3 separate regions of the Homo sapiens genome follow, and all the other regions are linked to region 3. The links are contacts of gene promoters, found by promoter capture Hi-C in blood cells and fetal thymus (Javierre and others, 2016). All regions are on one chromosome and are shown on one strand. Each heading gives the region's core, a stretch centred on a gene start or on the middle of the fragment in contact. The rest is flanking DNA. Distances are from core to core; before and after follow the strand shown.

The links. Contacts are between HindIII fragments. The CHiCAGO score rates a contact against its expected background, and 5 or more counts as called.
Region 1: a fragment that was not itself captured here is called in contact with the fragment with the promoter of ZNF223 in region 3 in 2 of 17 cell types (naive CD8 T cells and total CD8 T cells); the score reaches 5.6 in naive CD8 T cells.
Region 2: a fragment that was not itself captured here is called in contact with the fragment with the promoter of ZNF223 in region 3 in 1 of 17 cell types (fetal thymus); the score reaches 5.4 in fetal thymus.

Annotation. Positions count from the first base shown.
Region 1 is chr19:44,319,206-44,323,147 of GRCh38, forward strand. No RefSeq gene overlaps it. Among named protein-coding and RNA genes, the nearest start is that of ZNF235, 16 kb to the left of the region's middle. The HindIII fragment of the contact is 929 bases long and covers 1,142-2,070 here.
Region 2 is chr19:44,339,637-44,343,982 of GRCh38, forward strand. ZNF112 (zinc finger protein 112) reads right to left here. Exons shown (of 4, transcript NM_013380.4): 2 at 780-906. The coding sequence starts at 903. Among named protein-coding and RNA genes, the nearest start is that of ZNF112, 15 kb to the right of the region's middle. The HindIII fragment of the contact is 713 bases long and covers 1,202-1,914 here.
Region 3 is chr19:44,050,635-44,054,527 of GRCh38, forward strand. ZNF223 (zinc finger protein 223) reads left to right here and starts at 1,402. Exons shown (of 5, transcript NM_013361.6): 1 at 1,402-1,561. RefSeq lists enhancers at 1,068-1,569, 1,389-1,628 and a silencer at 1,289-1,348. The HindIII fragment of the contact is 18,414 bases long and covers 1-3,893 here.

The DNA of each region.
Region 1 (3,942 bases), core at 356-2,855, 270 kb after region 3:
CCCAGTTTGATGAGGATTTTTATCATAAAGGGATGTTAAATTATATTGAATGTTTATTTTTAGCATCTATCAAAATAATCAGATGGTTTTTCTTCTTGGTTCTGTTAGTGTGACGTATCACACTTATCAATTTGCATATACTGGATCATCCTTGCATCCTTGGGATGAATCCCATTTGATCATGGTGAATGATCTTTTTAATATGTTGGTGAATGATCTTTTTAATATGTTGCTGAATTCAGTTTGCTAGTATTTTGTTGAAAATTTTTGCATCTATGTTCACCAGTGATAATGTCCTGCAGTTTTTTTTTCCATTGTGTCCTTTTCTGGTTTTGGTATCAGGATACTGTTGGCCCCATAGAATAAATTTGGAATTATTCCCTTCTCTTCAATTTTTGTGAAGAGTTTGAGTAGAATTGGTATTAGTTCTCTAAATGTTTGGTAGAATTTAGCAGTGAAACCATTAGGTCATGAGTTTTTCCTTGATAGGCGACTTTTTATTATGGCTTCAATTTCATTATTTGTTACTGGTTTATCGAGGTTTTCTATTTCTTCATAGTTCAACTGTGGTCGATTGCATGTGTCCAGGAATTTATTCATTACTTCTAGGTTTTCCAAAGTGTATCATTGTTCATCACAGTCTCTAATGATTCTTATTTCTAATGATTCTTATTTTTGTGGTCTCAGTTGTTAAGTCTCCTTTTTCATTTCTGATGTTATTTACTTGGATCTTCTTTCTTTCTTGGTTAGTTTAGCCAAAGGTTTGATGATTTCTGTTTATCTTTTTAAAATCCCAACTTTTCTTTCATTTATCTTCTGTATTCTTCTTTCATTATCAATTTTATTTATTTCTGCTCTGATCTTTATTTATTTTCTTCTACTAATTTTGGATTTGGTTTGTTCTTACTTTTTTAGTTCCTTGAGGTGCATCATTAGGTTGTTATTTGAAATCTTTTTACCTTTTTGATATATGTTTGTTGCTATAAACCTCTAAGTTTTGCTTTGGCTGTATCCCATAGATTTTGCCATGTTGTATTTCTATTTTCTTTGTTTCAAAAAATGTTTAAATTTCCTTCTTAATTTCTTCATTGCCTCACTGGTCATTCAGGAGCATGCTGTTTAATTTCCATGTTGTTTGTGAAGCTTCCAATGTCCTTTTTGTTATTGATTTCTAGTTTAATTATACTGTGGTCAGAAAAGATACTGAATATAATCTCTCTTTTTTTTTTAATTTGTTGAGATTTGTTTTGTGGCCTAAGATATAGTCTATTCTGGACAATGTTCCATGTACTGATGAAAAGAACATCTATTCTGCAGCAATTGGGTGAAATGATCTGTAAATGTCAGTTATGTCTATTAGGTCTAGTGTGTGACCTAACTTCAATGTTTCTTTGTTGATTTTCTGTCTGGATGATCTGTCCATTGCTGAGAGTGGGATGTCAAAGTCTCCTACTATTATTATTTTGCCATATATCTCTTATTTTCGATCTATTAATGTTTGCTTTATAAACTTCGGAGTTCTGGTGTTGAATGCATAGATATTTATAATGGTTATATCATCTTGCTGAATTGACCCATTAATCATTTTATAGTGACCTTATTTGTCTTTTTTACAGTCTTTGATTTGTAGTCTATATTGTATCTTATACAAGTATAGCTACTCCTGCTCTTTTTTCGTTGCCTGTTGCAAGCTATGTCTTTTTCCACCCCTTCACTTTTAGACTATGTGTGTCTTTACAGGTGAAGTGGGTTTCTTGCAGGCAGCATATAGTTGGGTCTTGTTTCTCTATCCATTCAGCCACTTTATGTCTTTTAATCAGAGGATGAGTCAATTTACATTCAGTGTTATTATTGATTAGTAAGGACTTACTACTGCCATTTGTTGCTTGTTTTCTGGTTGTTTTGTAACTCCTCCCTTTCTTTCTTCCTTTCTTACTGTCTTCTTTTTTTGCTTAAATATTTAAGAGTCTTCATTTTTCTGTCTTCCTTTGTGGTTAACAGTATGTTTTAATTTGTTGCTTTTTACTTTTAGTGAATCTATTATAGGTTTTTGTATTGTGTTTACCATAAAGCTTACAAAATACATTTTATAGATATAACAGGTTATTTTAAAGAGATGACAACTTATCTTAGATTACAAGTAATAGAAACAAAGAAAAATGAAAAGAAGAAACACTTCTACACTTAACTCCCATCCGTCCCACCTTTTGATTTTTGGTTGTCTCAATGTACATATTTTTATATTACCTATTTCTTAACAAATTGCTCTTGCTATTATTCTTTTTGATAGATTTCTTTTGGGCTACATACTAGTTATGAGTGGATTGCACATCACAATTACAATACTATTCTTGGTTTGTCTGTGTACTTAACTTTACCACTGGGTTTTACAGTTTCAGAAGCTTTCATTTTGCACATTAGTAGCTTTTTCTTTCACATTGGAAACTCCCTTGAACCTTTCTTAGAAGTCTGTTGTGGTAAATTCTCTCATCTTTTGTTTATCTTGGAAAGACTTTATCTCTCCTTCATATTTGAAGGATAACTTTGCTAGATACAGTATTCTTGGATGATAGTTTTTTTTTTTTTTTAATTTCAGCACTTTGAAAATGTCTCTGCACTTCCTCCTGGCCTATATGGCTTCTGTTAAGAAGTCTTTTGCCAGATGAATTGGAGCTCCTTTATATGTCATTTGCTTGTTTTTTTTTTTTTTTTTTTTTTTTTTTGCTGCTTTTATAATTCTTTCTCCTTGACCTATGAGAGTTTATTATATGCTTTGGGGTAGTCTTAGTTGGGTCAAATCTGTTTGCTGTTCTATGATTTCCCTGTACCTGGATATTCATCTCTTTCTTAAATTTTGGAAAGTTTTCTGTTATTTTGTTGAATATACTTTCTACTCCTTGCTCTTGCTCAACTCCCTCCTGAACAGCAGTAATTCTTAGTTTTGGTCATTTGAGATATTTTCTATCTCTTTCAGTCAATATTTGCTCTTTTTCTTTCTCTGTTCTCTTCTGACTGTGTATTCACAAATAGCCTGTCTTGGAGCTCACTGATTCTTTCTTCTGCTTGATACATTCTGCTGTTGAGAGCCTCTAATGGATATTTCAGTGCAGCAAACATATTTCTCAGTTCCAAGATTTCTGTTTGATTTTAAAAAATTATTTTATTCTCTGTTCAGGTTCTCTGATACATTTCTGAATTGCTTTTCTGTGTTATCTTGGAGATCACTGAGTTTCCTTAAAACAGCTCTTATGAAGTCTTGGTCAGAGAGTTCACATATCGTCTTCCTGTTAGGATCAGTCACTGGTTCCTTGCTTTGTCCATTTGTGGGATGCCATGGCTCCCCGTTTGCTGTTGTTGCTTATGGATGTGTGTCTGTCTTTGCATCGAATGATTATACATTCCACTATTCTCTGTCTGGCTGGTTTTGTTTTTCATTGGATATGGCTCCCTAGAGATTCTTTATATTTTACCTGTTGATTTTCTTCTTTCCCGTTAGGTTACTGACTCCTTTTTGGTACTAGATAGCCTATTAACTCCAGGTTTGCCTCAGTTCTAGTAAATAATCATAGTGCCACCCATCCCAAAAGGGGTAGGTCCCATAGGGGATATCCTAGTTGTAAGAAAGCTGGCTAGTGGTTCATGATTGGGGACCTACAGTATAGTGATGCTGAACAGCCACTCTGATTGTTGTCTCCTTTGGCTGAGTTGCAGAGTAGAGTTTCCATGACGGGGACAGTATTCCCACCTCCCTCCTTTGTCTCTGGCTGTCCTCAGGGATATTTCTCTCTTCAGTTACTCCTGATGCTTTCTGTGGGTTGAGTCAGGGACAAGTCTCCTGCCAGGAAACCCAAGATGGGGAGGAGGCTGGTTGTCCACCTTGATTAACTTTTTCCAGTATAGAAACCGTGAGACGGGAAAATTTTCCACAGTCTTGGCACCAGG
Region 2 (4,346 bases), core at 308-2,807, 290 kb after region 3:
GCTGACTTTAATCTGATTCCTTTCCCTGTAATGAATCATTAACTGTGAAGACAACTGCTTTCAGTGAGTTCTGTGAGTCCTTCTAGTGAATTATTGAGCCTGAGTGTGGGGCTCAGTACTCTTGGGTCTTGGGGACTCCTAATCTTGCAATTGGTATCAGAGGTGAGAGTGAACTTGGGGACTCCTGAACTCTGTATATACACTGAAGTATTTAGAGAAAAACGGCCATGGTATATTAACTTACCCTCAAGTCGTTCAGAAAAAGATATTATGACTATATATATTTTTTCATATACATACATAAGTATGTATGGAGAGGGAAAGAACATGAACATAAATGATAGAGCAAATAGGGTAAAATGTTATTAGAGGTGAATCCAGGTAGAATCTTGGCGAATCTATATGGGTGTTCTTGTCCTTTTGTAAGTTTTCTGTGAGTTTAAAGTTATTTACAAATATAATGTTTTTTTAAAAAAACCCCTCTAAAAAGTCAAGTTCATCAACAGTTACTGGTGCCCTGAAAAATAAACTTACTAACCTGGAACAACTTACTAAACTGTTTGATGGCAAATCAATGAAGCAGGACCATATTTACTATTCCAAGGATAGACTGGACAAAACCATCAGAAACATCTTGTCTGTGTTGCACGGGGATTATTAGGACTCTCGGGCACCTAATCTCAGAGAATAATTTCAGGGGCTTCAGAGTTTCTAACAATTGAGCACACAAAGACACCCCAGGAGGCTGCCATTGAGTAACTAAGGGCACCTATCCTCACCTACTAAGAGCAGGTTCCTGAAGTTCTCCAGCATCACATCTCGGTACAGCTTCCTCTGGACAGAGTCCAGCAGCCCCAGCTCCTCCTCAGTGAAGACCACAGCAACATCCTTGAATGTCACCATCTCCTACAATGCCAAACACATGCACACTAAGTTTACAGAAGAAGGGCAGTGCTGAGAAGGTGTAAAGGACTGGAAGCTGTTCTGGAGTCTGGGCAACTTGAGTCACATTTACATAGTTCTCTTCTGTTTACCTTCTGTAATGCTAATACCATTCACCAAAAGGGCTGCAAGAAAAGAAATCCTTGCACTTTGAAATTACTTCCTTTTGTTAGCACTTATAAGTAAGCCTCTGGAACTCTGTTGCACCCTAGGTTACCAATATTTTAAATTGTAATAATAATGTCATTTGCTCCACAAAAGCTTTAGTTCTAACAGTGACTGATGCTACCTGTTTCTCCTCATTTACACACACACACATCACTTATTTAATTTGTCAAATTTACAGGGTATCAGTCATCCTTACTGCTCAAATATGTAGCTCATCCTCTGTGCTCATCTGGAGACTGCTGCAGTGATGGGCACAGCTCTGGAGCCTGACTGCCTGTGTCTGGATCTGGGCGCTCTGCCCAATGCTAGCTCTATGATCTTGGACAAGTTTCCTATCTTCTCATTTGTATGGTGAAACTTATACCATACAGTCCTAGTAATAAAATGAGTGACCACATGTAAAGCATGGAAAACAGCACCTGGCACACAGTAAGTACCCAACAAATGTTAGCTACATTATTAATATTTTCATTATATCTTCTATCCCATTTCTGGGCTGCAAAGTAATTCAGAGAACTAATGGTCTAGAATATAATAATTTGATCCAACTAATGCACACTTAGTTTGAGGTTACCTATACGAACAATGTTGCAAAAACAATCTTTTGCATTGACGTTAACCTCTGGAATTCTGTTGATTATCTCCTCAAAATAAATACCAAAAAGTAACAATGGCAATGCTGAAGAATAATGACCTTTAAAGTTCTGAAATCATAATGGCAGGTGTTTTCCCAAAACAGACTTTCGCCTTCCATCTTAGCCTTCTTCCAAGAAAGTATAAATCATAGTCAACACTGGATATGAAAGCTTTTTAAAAAAATCTTTCATAATCTCACAAGTAAATTTGGGAAGTAAAAATCATTTATTAAAAACATTCTCACAAACTTATTGGTAATAAAGTTCATTCTCTTTACACACATTTGCTGTTCATCTCGATTTCTTGTTTTGTAATAATAATTCATTTGGAGGACACCGAGGTCTTTTCTTCCATGGACATTGTAAATATTTTTCATTCCACTTTGCTGTCTTGTAACTTTTTGCTGTAGGGTAATTTTAAATTTTTAAATGAACAACTGTTCAGTCCCATATTTCTTCTGGCTGCAGTTCTGAGCATAACAGCTTCAGCTCTGAATGCAGAACTCTGCTTTGGTTTGCTTTGCTTTTTTGTAAGTCTTTCCACGCAAGTGATATGCCTGAAACTCTTGGCCCAGAAAGCAAAGGCTTTAGAGTTGGCCCAATGCTTATCTTCCTGTATGAACATGAACCTCTTAACAGTGCAAACGACTCTACAGTTCCCCTCCAACAGTCATCTGGGGCCATGAATAGTGTGACAGATGCAAAGTGCCTATATATCCTATGGTATGACTAAAAACTTTAAACTAAGTACCTGTATTACTCTAATAAAATTAATACATGAATAATGAAACACACACAGACATACAAACATATATAGATAAACACATAGCTATAGGTACTGAGAAGAATCTAGCTCTTCTTATATAAGAATCTAGCTCTTCTTGTACAAAAACATCTATTTTTCCCCCAACCTTAGCTTCAATATAATCTTGTTAGACAAAATCATATTTTATGTATTCCACCTGAGACATCACTTAGGAGAAAATATTTTTAGTTTTGAGTCTCTAGAACATTATGGACAAATAATATCAAAATTCTCTCACACTGGTTTTTGAGTCAAGATTATTTGTAGGAAAACTGATACTGCAATGTAAAACTGCAAGAATCCTCAGGAACGTAAAAGCTTGTGAGTTGGAAATAATTTAAAGAAAAGGGCCGGGCACGGTGGCTCACGCCTGTAATCCCAGCACTTTGGGAGGCTGAGGCACGTAGATCACGAGGTCAGGAGTTCAAGACCAGCCTGGCCAAGATGGTGAAACCCCATCTCTACTAAAAATACAAAAAAATAGCTCGGTGTGGTGGCAGGCACCTGTAATCCCAGCTACTCGGGAGGCTGAGGCAGAGAATTGCTGGAATCCAGGAGGTGGAGGGTGCAGTGAGCCGAGATCATGCCACTGCATTCCAGCCTGGGCAACAGAGCGAGACTCCATCTCAAAAAAAAAAAAGAAAAAGAAAAAGAAAAGGGGGAGAGGGATAACAACAGTTTACGTCAATAATATTAGATGATAAAAATTAACTGCTAAAAATTAAGCGGATAAAAATTCAAAATTGTTATGTATTAATGCAAGAACAGTTATATTTAAAAAAATGACCATGGACAAAAACAGATTTGTAAGCAGGGTAATAAGGTGTAGGATTTTAAAATTTCTATTCTTCTTTGTACTATTATTTATGAAATAAATAATAAAACACATTTACAACTAAAAGGAAATTTTAGAAAAGGACAAAAACAAAAAGCAAGAGCCTGATACATAAATGATACTAAATGCCTGTTGTCATTCTTTACCCTTGGCAAAGAAGGGGGAAAAAGATATGTCCACTCACTGCAAAATGAGGTCACATGTAAAACGGCATAAATGAAAACCAGCTCACCTGGAATTTGGTCATTTTTCTCTTTCTTTTTCTAGAGAAAGGCAGAGACCTGAGAAGGCAGAACAGGGTAATACGAAAGAAGCCATGATTAAAAGGGAAACGTATCTTTGTGCAAATTAGAAAAAGGTGTCCCTTCCCCCAGCAGATGTGGCCACACACCGGCGTTAAGGAGCAGGTAGCATGGGTTGGATTCTAGCTACCACTTGGCTCTCCTGGCAGGGTGCCCGCATGCACGGAGCAACCTGCACAGCTGTACCCAGTAGCCTCACATGCCTTACAGCTCCCAGCATGCTCATTCTGATTCTGGGAGAGGTGGGAAAGGAGAGGTAGTGGCATGTCATGTACTGGTTAAAAGTGGACTCTGGGGACAAAATGTCTACGTTCAAAACCTGGTGCTACCATATACTTGCTGAGTAACCATGGTTAAATTCATGAACCTTTCTAATGTTTCAGTTCTGTCATCTGCAAAATCCAGACCACACAGTGCCAACAATATATGATTGTTATTAGGATTATCTGTGTGCATAGAGGAAACCTATTATAACTATACCAGGGATCTCTACTTCCTTGCAACTATAGAGATGCAGATACCATTCTGTATCACAAAATTGCCCTGGCGAATGTATTTTGTAAGACATCTGGACAGCAGAGATTACTGCTCTGTCCCGGGAAAGTCACCCGTAACTTCGGAATGTCTGTAGCTCTGGCTTCTTACTTTTGTTGCCACAG
Region 3 (3,893 bases), core at 152-2,651:
TCTCCTCCAGAATTAACAGTCAATTTACAAACTAAAGCATGCTGGCCTCTGAACTCTCACTCACCAGGAGGTTGCCTGAAGAGACAACAGTTGAAAGCGTGCCTGCTACTCTCTCCCTTCTGGTTACAACTTATTTCTGCCCATGAAAAAGCCAGCTCAACTGCCTAATAGATAAGGCACCAAGCCAGCACACAGACCCCTTCCCTCTTCCTCCCCTACCTTTTAAAAGTGCCTGCTTTCTGCTCTAAAAGCCAAGCCGTGCACTTAAAGACAACACCTGTGCTACTTCCCCTACGCTAGCTCTAGAATAAATCACTTTCTTTATACCAGATCTCCCTCTTGTTAACTGGACGTTGCAAACGGGAAGCCACTGATCTACTTTTCAGTTACAGGGGCTGATGCTTTCCTGGCTTCTCATTGCCCCTCCCAACCCATTCTACCTGGCTCATTCTTTAAACCAGTGGTCCCCAACCGTTTTAGCACCATGGACCGGTTTTGTGGAAGACAATTTTTCCACGGACTGGGGAATGGTTTCGGGATGAAACTGTTCCACCTCAGCCATTAGATTCTCATAAGGAGCGCCTGACCTAGATCCTTCGCACGCACAGTTCACAATAGGATCCGCGCTCCTATGAGAATGTAATGCTGGGCTGATCTCACAGGAGGTGGAGCTCAGGCCATAATGCTCCCTCACCTGCCGCTCACTTCCTGCTGTGCCGCCCGGTTCCTAACAGTCAGTGGACCGGTACAGGTCTGTGGCCCTGGAGTTGGATATCCTTGCTTTAAACCCTGAGCCTCCTTTCAGCCATCTGACGGCTCAACAGTCACTCTATCTAGCTCCTTGAATATTGTATCTCCTCGCTTGTTCCCTGTCCAAGAACACTCCTGTCAATCATGGGAGACATTTAGACTTCATAAATTCTTTCTATTCAATATTTTCGCTCGAGGACTCTGGGAAGGACAACTGTCAGGGTAACAGTCTGCATTCCCCACCAGGAACCTGGGGCTATGAAATTCGTTCCCCGTGGGTGTTGCGGGAAGTGTAATCGAGGAGCACCATGTAGTCGCAACACTTGAGCCTAAAGGGTGAGGTGATGGACATTTTCCTTTTGCATCTGAGGCTCTGCAGTCCAGACACCTTGCGGGATTCCTGATACTTCAGCTCAGGTAGGCGTTTCCGGAGAATTCTGGGAAGAGTAGTCCATTTTACGGGAAGTGTAGTCCACTGGCTCGTGGAACACTGGGTATTTTGGCTCTGGCAGGTGAACCGTTGAATTCTGGGAACGATAGTCCAGACACTCTGCGGAGTCCCGGGCCCTTTGGCTCAGGGGGGCGGGTCCGGGGAATTCTGGGGAGTGGAGTCCAGACACTCTGGCGCAGAGAGGACACTTCCGGTCTCCTAGTCTGAGGTTCCTGCTTTAATGACCGGGGTAGTTTGAGCCATTTCTGCGTCTTGCAGGACATTTTGAACGAACCCCCTTTGCTTGAGGCTCGCAACCACCCGATGATCGATGATCGTCTCAGGGGAAAAGAAGCCTTGGCGAAGAGCAGAGGTTTAGAGGTGCGAGGGCGGGGAGGGTGTTTATTGTTCCCGTCAGCGGAGCCTTCTGGCGTCGGGGGGCTTTGCTCGCCTCCCGGGGGGTGGGATTGGGGTGGCCTTGTGTGCCCTGCTCTGAGGGTTTCCAGGACTTTGACCTCGCTCAGTCCGCCTCCCTACGTATGCAGTGTGTACACTCTTTCTCGCAGTGTGATGTGGAATGTTAATGTCTCTGTACTTCCCATTGCTGTTCTTTAAAATGGTGCTTATAGGGTCATCCTAATAGAATTGTTTTGCGAATTGAAAGAGATAATACAAATGAAAGCCTTAAAGTTGTCCCTGTCACTTGGTGAGTGGTCTCTTGTTGCCTGATATTTTAAAACGTTTGATATCATTTCAAAGCTATAGAAAAATTGCAAAAACAGTATAAGAAATTCTCATATACCCTTTACCCAAATTTGCCAAGTGTTTACATTTTTCCTGTTTGCTTTGTTGATGACCATCAACCAAATACCACCAGGAACATACCTGTAACCAGAGACAGCTGATTGGTAGCTTTCTGCAGCAAGGAAGCCCACATACCACGGTAATTGTGGGGTGTCTTGGTAAGAGGCATTTAGGAAGGGCTGGTTATAGGGTTTCACATAACATGGTAGATAATATTGGATATTATGTTAAATAATACTGTTACCGATTACATGTCAGATAGATGTGTTAAAAGAATACTAGTATTTGTAGTGTACTTACTAGATAGTGTTGGATAGCATATTACCTAGCATCATGTTATCTAATCTGCAGTTCCATATACGAATTTGTTAAATTTTTCATTTAAAGTCCTTATGACTGTCCTCTGCCCCACCCTTCACCTATTCAAAGTCCAGTTTATGCGTTGTCTTTAGCTGTCACATTTCCATAGTTGTTCATTTGGAGTTTGATATTGAAGGGGGCCTGCCTCTCCACACCTGTGGGTGTTTCTCACAAGGTGGAAATGAGAAACTGAGAAAAGAAATAAGACACAGACACAAAGTATAGAGGAAGAAAAGTGGGCCCAGGGGACCGGCGCTCAGCAAATGAGGACCTGTACCGGCACTGGTCTCTGAGTTCCCTCAGTATTTATTGATCACTATCTCTACTATCTTGGTGAGGGGGATGTGGAAGGACTATAGGGTAATGGTGGGGAGAGGGTCAGCCGGAAAACATGTGAGCAAAGGACTCTGTCATAAATAAGTTTAAGGAAAGGAGTTGTGCCTGGATGTGCACATAGGCCAGATTTATGTGTGACTTTACACAAACATCTCAGTGCAGTAAAGACCAGTATTGCCGCCAGTATGTCTCACCTCCAGCCATAAGGCGGTTTTCTCCTATCTCAGTAAATAGAATGTACGATTGGGTTTTATACCGAGACATTCCATTCCCAGGGATGAGCAGGAGACAGATGCCTTCCTCTTACCTCAACTGCAAAGAGGCCTTCCTCTTTCACTAATCCTCCTCAGCACAGACCCCTTATGGGTGTCGGGCTGGGGGACGGTCAGGTCTTTCCCTTCCCACGAGGCCATCTCTCAGGCTGTCTCAGTGGGTGGAAACCTTGGACAATGCCCAGGCTTTCTTGGGCAGAGGTCCCTGTGGCCTTCCGCAGTGTATGGTGTCCCTGGTTAATCGAGACTGGAGAATGGCAATGACTTTTACCAAGCATACTGCCTGCAAACACATTTTTACCAAAGCACATCCTGCACAGCCCTAAATCCATTAAACCTTGAGTCAATACAACACATGTTTCTGCGAGCACAGGGTTGGGGCTAGGGTTACAGATTAACAGCATCTCAAGGCAGAAGAATTTTTCTTAGTACAGATCAAAATGGAGTTTCTCATGTCTTCCTTTTTCTACGTAGACACAGTAACAGCCTGATCTCTTTTTCTTTCCCCTACAGATATATTTCACATTTAGGTTTAGATTATACATTGTTGGTGGGGATTCCACAGGAGTGTTAAGATGCCCTTTTCTTTTTTTTTTTTTTTGTTTGAGACAGTTTTGCTCTTGTCACCCAGGCTGGGGTACAATGGTGCAATAGGATGCCCTTTTCATTGTAACATAACAAGGTCCAAGTGATGTTCGTTTGTCCCTTCATTGGTGATCTCAGCTTTGTCACTGGCCAAGAAGATGTCTTTCAGATTTTTCCACTCTTATGTTACTTTTTTTTAAATTATGAAGTTTCTTATGGGAAAATACATTATTAGTGGGCATTTTCTTGTAAAAAAGAGCTTCCATTTCTCCTCTATTGGTTCATTGATTTGTTCAACTATAAATATTCTATCAATGTGGACTCAGAATCCAGTCTTATTGATTCTAATGATATGT